4 separate regions of the Homo sapiens genome follow, and all the other regions are linked to region 1. The links are contacts of gene promoters, found by promoter capture Hi-C in blood cells and fetal thymus (Javierre and others, 2016). All regions are on one chromosome and are shown on one strand. Each heading gives the region's core, a stretch centred on a gene start or on the middle of the fragment in contact. The rest is flanking DNA. Distances are from core to core; before and after follow the strand shown. Region 1 holds the start of ACTR8 (actin related protein 8). Region 2 overlaps UQCC5 (ubiquinol-cytochrome c reductase complex assembly factor 5). Region 3 overlaps PBRM1 (polybromo 1). Region 4 overlaps GNL3 (G protein nucleolar 3).

Region 1 (2,588 bases), core at 34-2,533:
GATAACTGGCAAAGTCTCACGGAGCTTACATTCTAGTGTGGGAGACAGTGAGCAGGCATGATAATTACAGACTAATGCTTCATGCTTCAAAGGGAATAGGATGATGAGAGAATAACTGCGGAAGGCCTGAGGTGACATTTGAGTTCAGACGTGAGAATGAGACAGCTGAGGGAAGAGCATCCAAGGCAAAATGAACAGCAAGTGCAACAGCCCGATGACGGGAAGGGCTTGGCATGTCTGAGAAAGATAAAACAGGTGTAGCTGGAAATGCCAAGGAATGGGGAGAGTGTTGTGAGGTGAACTTAGAAATGTAGCAATAACTAGATATGGTCTTTAGGTGGTGGTTAGTTTAGATTCTGTTCTTTGAGCAAAGGGAAACCATTAGAGTTTAAAGCATGAGTGACATCTAATTTTTGAGGTAAGTCTTAGTGGAGTGCTGGGTACATAGTAGTATTAACTACGTAATATTTTAAAACAACGTGGGCAACTATATAAGAACAGATCATAGGGGGACAGGACAAGGAGTTCGAGTTAAGAGGCTGTTGTAGTCATCCAGGTGAGATGATAGTGGCTTGGGCTAGGTAGTGGCATGGGAATGGAGAAGTGGATGAATTCAAGATCTATTTTAGAGACTGCAGGATTTACTGATGGATTGGATGTAGAAGCTGTCAACAAGTGAAGAATCAAAATGACATTTACTGAGATGGTGAAAGTGAGAGGGGAGGGAATCAAGAGTTAAATTTTGGACATATTTAAGTTTGCAGTGCCTTGTAGACAATCCAGATGGAGAGACCAAGTAGGCACTGGTTATCAGTACGGATCTCTCTGAGCGGTTCATCCTGGATATATATATTTGGGAATCGTATTCATTGCTAAAGCCAGGAAACTGGATAGTCACCCAAGGAGTGTGCCTGGAAAAGACCTAACCCCAACATCAGAGGCTGGACTGAACATGAAGACATATGAGAAAAACTAAGAGTACATATGGTATCTGGGAAGCCAGGAGAAGAGATGCCTGTGAGGACGAAATAAGATGCGGGTTATCAGCCGACCCCCACTAGGCGCTCGAAAAGCTATGTGTACTATGTTGCTGGCATCTACACAGTCAGGACTAATCACAGCAACACCCACCCAATCAATCCGCATGCACACCCCGCCCCCAGCCCCTGCGCCGGGCAGCCCCACCCCCGCCTTTTCGGAGCCCTCTGGGGCGACTCCGCGGCGGCCATCTTGACTGTGGGCAGCCGGCCGTGCGCCTGCGCGGTGGCCCTTCCATCCCGGCAGTCGTGGCTGCAGCGCTGAGGCGAGAGGTTGGTGGGTGTCTCCGGCCATAATGACCCAGGCTGAGAAGGGTGATACGGAGAACGGAAAGGAGAAGGGCGGCGAGAAGGAGAAGGAGCAGCGCGGCGTGAAGCGGCCCATCGTGCCCGCGCTGGTGCCGGAGTCGCTGCAAGAGGTGCGGCTCTGGCTGGGTTGGAACTCTTTGCCCTTGCTTGGGTCCTCCGCTGCCAGGCAAGGGGCGGGAGGCGGCGGGAGGCTTCGAGTCCCCCTTGCAGGCCCCAGCCCCTGGTGGGGGGAGTGCGGAAGCGGTCGTTCTTTTCCGGGTGGTGGCGCGCCGGGACGCCGAGGGCTGGGAGGTGCGGAGCGCCAGGAGCCAGGCGGAGCCCCCGCAGGGACACCGCTCCGATCTCCCGCACGCCCCACCGTCTGGTTGTGTGCGCTCCTGCCCGGGCTCTGGCCTCAGCTTCCCCGACCATAAAACGACCACGGTGATAACCAGCCGCCTCGCAAGTTGCCGTGAGGGTTAAATGGTGGCAGATAGAGTTTAGGACCAGGCTGGCTCACTGGGAGCGTCAGCCTGTGCTTGTTAAGGGATAGTTTGGGGTCCAGGCTTTTTCCTTTGTTAAGGAAATCTCAGATAATGGAAGTCATTTCAAGCTTAAAAGCAAGGAAATGGTGGACATTTGTCTAAATATATATTAAGAGCTTGTGTATCAAAAACAACACTATTAGACCAAACTAAACTAACCAGAAAAAATTATTTGCAGTAGCGTGCCTGGCAGAGGACCTTAGATGTATACACATACACAAAACCTTACTGATCAGTAACTAAAACAGCATTCACGTAGGAAAACGGGCACAGGCAGTGTACAATTCACAGAAGAAATGAGGCATAAACTGCTCAGAAATTCATGTAGGACATCTCTGATCCAGCTTCCTTACCGGTAGATGGGTTAAGGATAATACCTAACTAGTAGGGCAGCTACTAGTTAGTTATCACTAGTATGACAGTGCCTGGCACACCGTAAGCCCAGAGTGGCCATTACTGTTGCACAGGCCTGGTTTCTCCATCTGTCTAGTTGAGAAGGCTGACTGGATGGTCTGTAAGGGCCTTGCCAGATCCTTCCCTCTAGGATTCTCCCACTCTGTGGGGGGTGATTAGGAGGAGAGAGGTCACACTTGGAGATAGGACAACAGGTATCAGAGCATGGCATGGAATGGGCTTGTGCAGAGGGCAGTATTGGGCACTCAAGCAAGTACCTCCTCCATCCCCGACAGTCAGGGAGGGTTTCTTCAAAGGAGGTGAG
Region 2 (2,588 bases), core at 59-2,558, 1.3 Mb after region 1:
GATGTTTAAGAAACATATTTAAAATTAAAACAATCTGAATAATTTAACCAATAGTCTAGGTCTGTCACCTACTTCTGAATCTTGGCATTAATATTTAACTCAATGCCAAAATAAACTTAAAACAAAACTTGAGTTAGATGAGGACTATGATAATGGAGTTCTAGACTTAAATAGGGTAAAAGTCAGTGTCTTGAAAGATAGAATCATGTCTTAGCACATCTCTTAGTGTTTTAAGATGTCCCTCACTTCCTTCTCCCCCATAATTTCTATTCTGTGCTCTGAAGTCATCCTTCTTAACTAAAACCTGGCTCCTCAAAGGCACTTCTTGCCTCTTGGCTCTCTGATGCTCCCTCTCCCATATCCAGAAACCTTCAGGTGGGGAGAGGAGATCAGTTTCCTTGTTCCAGCTGCTGCTTTGCCAGACCTTTGACTCGCCACCTTCATGTAAAGAATCTTCTTTCCAGGCCGGGCACAGTGGCTCACGCCTGTAATCCCAGCACTTTGGGAGGCCGAGGCAGGCGGATCACAAGGTCAGGAGTTTGAGACCAGCCTGGCCAGTATGGTGAAACCCCGTCACTACTAAAAATACAAAAATTAACCGGGTGTGGTGGCAGGCACCTGTAGTCCCAGCTACTCAGGAGGCTTAGGCAGGAGAGTCGCTTGAACCCAGGAGGCAGAGGCTGCAGTGAGCCAAGATCGTGCCACCACACTCCAGCCTGGGTGACAGACCAAGACTCTGTCTCAAAAAAAAAAAAAAAAAATCTTCTTCCTTCATGGCTCATGCCATTTGTCTGCCACCATCTTTCTTTGGCACCTGCTCTCCATCATGCCCCTTCAGTCACCAAAAGTGCTGGCCTCTGGCTCAGGTTCCTTGACCCTGTCCTGTGCCTTCTCCCCAGATACCACCATTACCCATGGGGATGAAGCTCCAGTACCCTTCACCTTCAACATCTTCCAGTCACTTGCAGGGCTCCTCTGAAGGATTTCTGTTCATACCACAACCCCCGTTACCTTTCCAGCCCTCCTGTCCTTGGACCTCACGTTTCTTCCCCAGGTCCTTGGCCCCGTCTTACCCGCTCAGCCGCTTCTTGTTCTCTCTCCTGGCAAATCAGCTAAAATTCCTTCATACTCTTGTCAATATCTTAACTTCCTGACACACCCTCAAAACCCCAACCACAGATTAATCCAACTTCCTCCCTTCCCCATGCTTCACCCTGCTTGCTGTGTCCTGAGGGGCCAACTGATGCCTCTAACTGGGTCCACTGAGGTGTCTGACAATCCTGTTTCCTCAGCCATCATCCTGACTCTTTTTCACCCACCCCCAAATGGCCATTTCCTCTCTTCCTTCACAGAGGAAAGTCATCATAAGGAACTCTTCCAGCTAACTTCCAAGGGCTTACTCCTGTCACCCAGCTCTGGTCCCACCCTCTCAAGGGTCCAGTATCTCCAGCCTCTCTCCACCCTCTCCTTCTAGATCATTATTTGCATATCCTGCAGTCTCTCCTAGAGGAAGGGGGGTTACCTCCCCTTCACAGAGCCAGATGTATTTAACCTCCTGTCTTCTGTGATAACAAATCCTCCTGGTTTCCCTCCTTGCCTTTCTGGCCATTCTCAGTTACCCTTAAAATGTTGGGATTTGGGCCAGGCGCAGTGGCTCACGCCTGTAATCCCAGCACTTTGGGAGGCCAAGGTGGGCAGATCACCTGAGGTCAGGAGTTCTAGACCAGCCTGACCAACATGGAGACACCCCATGTCTACTAAAAATACAAAATTAGCCGGGCGTGGTGGTGCATGCCTGTAATCCCAGCTACTCCAGAGGCTGAGGCAGGAGAATCACTTGAACTTGGGAGGCAGAGGTTGCGGTGAGCCAAGATCGCACCACTGCACTCCAGCCTGGGCAACAAGAGCGAAACTCAGTCTCAAAAAATAAATAAATTAAATTAAAATGTTGGGATTTGACTTCCATCATAATTTGCTTCTGAATGGTTCACAAATCCCAATTTCTGGCCCAGATTTGCCTCCTGAGCTTCAGCTCTGTATAACCATATCTACCTCGTCACGTCCCAGATGGTGCCCAGGATGGCCCTGCCTGTGTTCGGCACCTTCAGGAAATGCACTACCCCCTGCCCCAGGTGTCCCACCAGAAGCCTCCACTCCTCATCTCCTGAGTCCACTTAATCACCATGCCCTGTCAGTACTACCTCTGGGCTGTCTTTTACTTCCATCCCTTCTTGGTATCCTTTCTGCCCCAACCTAGACCAGGCCACTGTCTCAACTCTGGACAGCCATACAGCGTAACTGTTCCTACCAATCTGTCCACAAGGAGCCATTCTCCACATGTTAAAGCCTCTCCCTAAAATGACTCAATCCTTGGGATCCATTCTTGGTTCTCCAGTCCCTTTGCCACCCTGCCCAGGCACCCTTCTAGCCATCCCCACTTTGTTGATCTGCTTCAATCCCTCAAACACACAGCATACTCTCACACAAGTGCTCCTACCACTGCCATGGAGATGCTTTCAATTCCACACACCTTCCCCTCATCTGACTGACACCTACTCAGTCTTCAGGTCCTACTTTACTTGGTAGCT
Region 3 (2,588 bases), core at 23-2,522, 1.2 Mb after region 1:
GGTCTCGATCTCCTGACCTCGTGATCCGCCCGCCTCGGCCTCCCAAAGTGCTGGGATTACAGGCGTGAGCCACCGCGCCCGGCCCCCGCTTCATTCTTTATATGTGTGTATCCAGTTTTCCCGGTATCGTTTGTTGAAAAGACTGTGCTTTTCTCATTGAATGGTTTTGGCGCCTTTGTCAAAATTTGCTTGACCGTGTATGTGAGGGTCGTTTCTAGGCTCCATTCTATTCCATTGGTCCCTGTGTCTGTTTTTATACCAGTAGCACACATTTTGATTACTGTGAACAACATATTCAGTGGCAAAATACTTAAAGCTTTTCCTCTAAGATCACGAACAAGACAGAGATGCCCACTTTCACCACTTCAACACCTTGTTCACTGTGGAATAAATCCCACCTGGTTATGGTATATAATCCTTTTAATATCCTGCTGAATTCAGTTTGCTAATATTTTATTGAGAAATTTTGCATCAGTATTCATAAGGGATATTGATCAGTAGTTTTCTTGTAGTATCTTTGTCTGGCTTTGGTATCAGAGTAATGCTAGCTTCATAGAATAAGTTAGGACGTGACCTCGCCTCTTCAATTTTTTGGAAAAGTTTCATAAGGCTTGGTGTGTTAGTTCTTGAAATGTCTGGTTAGAATTCATCAGTGAAGCTATCAGTCTAGGGATTTTCTTTGTGGGAGATTTTTTATTACTGATTCAGTCTCCTTACTAGTTATAGGTTTACTCAGGCTTTGTATGTCTTTAGTAGGTTGTGTGTTTCTAGGAAATTATCCATTTCTTCTAGTTTATCTAATTTGTTGGCATACATGTTTTCCTAGAACTCTCATAATCCTTTTTATTTTTGTGGCATTGGTTGTAATGTCTCCTCTTTATGATTTTAGTTATTTGCATCTCTTTTCTCCCTTACTTCTTCCCTCCCTCCCTCCTCCTTTCTGTCTTTTTTTGAGACAGGATCTTGCTTTGGCACCCAGGCTGGAGTGCAGTGGCAATCACAGTTCAGTGCAGACTCAACCTCCCGGACTCAAGCAGTCCTCTCACCTGATGCTACCATACCTGGCTAATATATATGTTATATATACGTGTGTATGTATATAGTAAACACATAAAATATATATATTGTATATATAACGTATTTTTTATTTATATATGTAAAAATATGCTGGATTCTTACCTAACGCTACATACATATTAAAAAATAACGTATGTAATGTTAGGTAAGGAGATATATGTGTGTGTGTGTGTGTATATATATATATATATATATATTTTTTTTTTTTTTTTTGGTAGAGACAGGGTTTCCCTGTGTTGCCCAGGCTGGTCTCAAACTCCTGGGCTCAAGTGATCCTCCTACCTTGGCCTCCCGAAGTGCTAGGATCACAAGTGTGAGCCACCACACCCAGCCTCTCTCTCTCTTTTTTTTTTTTTTTTTTGAGATGGAGTTTCGCACCAGGCTGGAGTGCAGTGGTGCGATCTCGATTGTGGCTCACCACAACCTCCGTTTCCCAGGTTCAAGCGATTCTCCTGCCCCAGCTTCCCGAGTAGCTGGGATTACAGGCATGGGCCACCACGCCCAGCTAATTTTGTATTTTTAGTAGAGACAGGGTTTCTCTATGTTGGTCAGGCTGGTCTCAAACTCCCGACCTTAGGTGATCCGCCTACCTTGGCCTTCCAAAGTGCTGGCATTACAGGCGTGAGCCACCGTGCTCAGCTCTTTCTTTCTTAGTTAATCTAGCTAAGTGTTTACCAATTTTGTTGATCTTTTAAAAAAACCAACTGTTTAATTTTTAAAATTGTTTTTCTATTCTCTAATTTCGTTTATCTGCATTCTATATATATATCTATATATATATTTTTTTTTTGAGACAGTGTCTTGCTCTGTTGCCCAGGCTGGAGTGCAGTGGCGTGATCATGGCTTATTGCAGCCTCTGCCTTCCAGGTTCAAGTGATTCTTATGCTTCAGCCTCCCAAGTAGCTGGGATTACAGGCGTGTGCCACCATGCCTGGCTAATTTTTGTATTTTTAGTAGAGATAGGGTTTCACTTTGTTGCCCAGGCTGGTCTTAAACTCTTGACCTCAAGTGATCTGTCCACCTCATCCTCCCAAAGTGCTGGGATTATAGGCATGAACTACTGCACTGGCCCTCCTTTCTATTTATTATCTACTGCTAGCTTTGGGTTTAGTTTGCTCTTCTTTTCTCTAATTCCTTGAGAAAGAAGCTTTTTTTTTTTTTTTTTTTTTGAGATGGAGTCCCACTCTGTTGCCCAGGCTGGAGTGCAGTGGCACAGTCTTGGCTCACTGCAACTTCCACCTCCTGGGTTCAAGCAATTGTCCTGCCTCAGCCTCCCGAGTAGCTGGGATTACAGGCATACACCACTATGCCTGGCTAATTTTTTTTGTACTTTTAGTAGAGACGGAGTTTTGCCATATTGGCCAGGCAGGTCTCGAACTCCTGACCTCAGGTGATCCACCCGCCTCAGCCTCCCAAAGTGCTGGGATTACAGGCATGAGCCACTGCACCTGGCCGAGAGTGAAGCATGTTTTTTAAATTATTTAATTTTTTTGTTTCATTTTGTTTTTTAA
Region 4 (2,588 bases), core at 54-2,553, 1.2 Mb after region 1:
AACATCTAGGTTCCTATTCTAACTTGGAATTTCAAATATTTATTTTCTAATCTGAAGAAGTCAGTTTAACAGCTCTTCTCTCTACTGGCTATAAAATTGTATCTATTTTGTTTGAAGCAGTAAGTACATATATCCTATTTGTGTTTTTAGTACAATTACATTGGCTATCTTGACTATAAAAAGGAAAGAATTCGTAAGCTTTCCATGAAAGCCAGCACTTGCTCATTTAATCCTGGAGTTTTTGTTGCAAACCTGACGGAATGGAAACGACAGAATATAACTAACCAACTGGAAAAATGGATGAAACTCAATGTAGAGTAAGTATGTAACTGGCCTAGCTGTGAAAAACTGTTGTATTTCAATTCCTAGAGTCTTGACTAACAGGAGTTAGTCAGTACTTTTCACTAACAAACATTTGTTTTCTGTCCCACCAAGAGAGGGACTGTATAGCAGAACCCTGGCTGGTAGCATCACAACACCTCCTCTGCTTATCGTATTTTATCAACAGCACTCTACCATCGATCCTATGTGGAATGTCCGCCACCTTGGTAAGTAGAATTAACCAGTGGCATAAGCTAGTAAAGAATTGGTATCTAAAGAACTATCCTCAGGGATGGGGTATATTCTTTGTTTCCCTTAAGTAAGTTTTCTGCACAATTTCACATGGCGCAACGATGTGGCTATTTTTGTCTCAAATGTAAGGTTCCAGTGCTGGAAAACGATATTCACCTCAGTTTGTAAAGGCTGCCAAGTTACTCCATTGGAATGGACATTTGAAGCCATGGGGAAGGACTGCTTCATATACTGATGTTTGGGAAAAATGGTATATTCCAGACCCAACAGGCAAATTCAACCTAATCCGAAGATATACCGAGATCTCAAACATAAAGTGAAACAGAATTTGAACTGTAAGCAAGCATTTCTCAGGAAGTCCTGGAAGATAGCATGCGTGGGAAGTAACAGTTGCTAGGCTTCAATGCCTATCGGTAGCAAGCCATGGAAAAAGATGTGTCAGCTAGGTAAAGATGACAAACTGCCCTGTCTGGCAGTCAGCTTCCCAGACAGACTATAGACTATAAATATGTCTCCATCTGCCTTACCAAGTGTTTTCTTACTACAATGCTGAATGACTGGAAAGAAGAACTGATATGGCTAGTTCAGCTAGCTGGTACAGATAATTCAAAACTGCTGTTGGTTTTAATTTTGTAACCTGTGGCCTGATCTGTAAATAAAACTTACATTTTTCAATAGGTATCTTCTTTTTTTATTCCAGATAACTACTTCCACTCACAATGAGATGAATTGTCTTTTTACAGAATTTAGGGATTCCAAGTTGCCTGGTTTTAATATAATACATATTCACAAAATTTACACAGCTCATGCATACCATAACTTATACAGAGAACAGTTTAGCAGTCTGCTTAAAATGTTAAAAAAAAAATCATAAAAAGCCATTGTTCTGTTACACATAATCTGTACTGAAGTCATAAGCATCATCCTCTTCAATGATTTTATCCAAGATAAAAGACCTTGTAGACTGTTCACCTATATTGCAGGAAAATAAAGAGATTTTCAAAAAGTAAAAGTGATTCTATACCATGCTGCTTCGTTAGAACCCCTTTTGCCTGCCTCACCTGCTGTAGTCTCCTCAGACAGTGCCTCCCCTGTCTCTTCTGCAGCAAACATGCCTGAGCTGTTTTCCTGTGTGACAAAGAAAAATAGTGCTGGATTAGTAGCCCTTGTCTGCTCATTTAATCCAAGTAGTTATGTACCTGAAAAATTAACTCTTTGGAGGTACATATAACGGGATGTGCAAAATTAAGGCTAATGGATCACAAGCCTCAAATATTTCCTATCTTCAGTTCCTTCCATTATGTATTATAATGCTAGAAAACTCACTTCAGTTTTAACTCATGGAGGACACACTTACATCAACTTCTTCATCAACAGTTTCCTGGTCACTGTCTTTGTCATCCTCCCTCTCCTCCTGCTTCCTTTCTTTCCGTTTTGGCAATTCTTCATGTATGTCCTTTTCTTCTATTATTCCATTTGTCAGACCGGAAGACTGGAAAAGGATGCTATTGGCCAAATGAGGGCCCTTGATGGCTGGGAAAGAAAGCAAGCCCATGTAAACAGGTAAGAGCTCCACTGGCCTGTCAGCTGATGAAGACAGCAGCGACACACAATTCTCACCTCTTATGCTCTGTGCATTGTTCTTTTCCAGTTCTTCCAGATTGAAGCCGCTTTTCATGTCTACCACAATACTCTCATTAAAATATGGAGGAGGAGTCCAAGATGTAGGGGGATGGCAATAGTAAGCTAATGAGGCACTGATATTAAAAATAAGATGTGTCAAAAGAAGGTTTATTCTAGTGGTCACCAAAATGCCAACAGAAAAGAAAGCTTACCCTGTCCACTCAGACCACAGCAGTTTGGCAGCACCTTCAACATTTGGGATTCCACCTTTTTGGTGCATACCTCTTCTCTGAGCAAGCACAGTAAAAAATTCCAGAGAATTCCTGTAGCCTGGGACAGTATATTTCAGTACTACCTTAAAAAAAAAACCAAACAAAGGAGCTGTCCTTCAT

The links. Contacts are between HindIII fragments. The CHiCAGO score rates a contact against its expected background, and 5 or more counts as called.
Region 2: a fragment that was not itself captured here is called in contact with the fragment with the promoter of ACTR8 in region 1 in 1 of 17 cell types (neutrophils); the score reaches 7.7 in neutrophils.
Region 3: a fragment that was not itself captured here is called in contact with the fragment with the promoter of ACTR8 in region 1 in 1 of 17 cell types (neutrophils); the score reaches 7.8 in neutrophils.
Region 4: a fragment that was not itself captured here is called in contact with the fragment with the promoter of ACTR8 in region 1 in 1 of 17 cell types (neutrophils); the score reaches 6.6 in neutrophils.

The regions. Positions count from the first base shown.
Region 1 is chr3:53,880,847-53,883,434 of GRCh38, reverse strand. It overlaps ACTR8 (actin related protein 8), which reads left to right and starts at 1,283. Exons shown (of 13, transcript NM_022899.5): 1 at 1,283-1,456. The coding sequence starts at 1,334. RefSeq lists silencers at 1,067-1,156, 1,547-1,656 and an enhancer at 1,317-1,396. The HindIII fragment of the contact is 9,111 bases long and covers 1-1,940 here.
Region 2 is chr3:52,537,812-52,540,399 of GRCh38, reverse strand. The region is part of intron 1 of UQCC5 (ubiquinol-cytochrome c reductase complex assembly factor 5); the gene reads right to left. Among named protein-coding and RNA genes, the nearest start is that of UQCC5, 2.5 kb to the right of the region's middle. The HindIII fragment of the contact is 7,688 bases long and covers 1-2,588 here.
Region 3 is chr3:52,673,330-52,675,917 of GRCh38, reverse strand. The region is part of intron 3 of PBRM1 (polybromo 1); the gene reads left to right. Among named protein-coding and RNA genes, the nearest start is that of PBRM1, 11 kb to the left of the region's middle. The HindIII fragment of the contact is 1,908 bases long and covers 319-2,226 here.
Region 4 is chr3:52,693,150-52,695,737 of GRCh38, reverse strand. It overlaps GNL3 (G protein nucleolar 3), which reads right to left. Exons shown (of 15, transcript NM_014366.5): 11 at 2,409-2,551; 12 at 2,194-2,330; 13 at 1,931-2,106; 14 at 1,635-1,701; 15 at 1,241-1,545. The coding sequence ends at 1,463. GLT8D1 (glycosyltransferase 8 domain containing 1) reads left to right here. Exons shown (of 10, transcript NM_018446.4): 8 at 151-317; 9 at 436-548; 10 at 703-1,252. The coding sequence ends at 893. Among named protein-coding and RNA genes, the nearest start is that of SNORD69, 1.7 kb to the right of the region's middle. The HindIII fragment of the contact is 2,205 bases long and covers 201-2,405 here.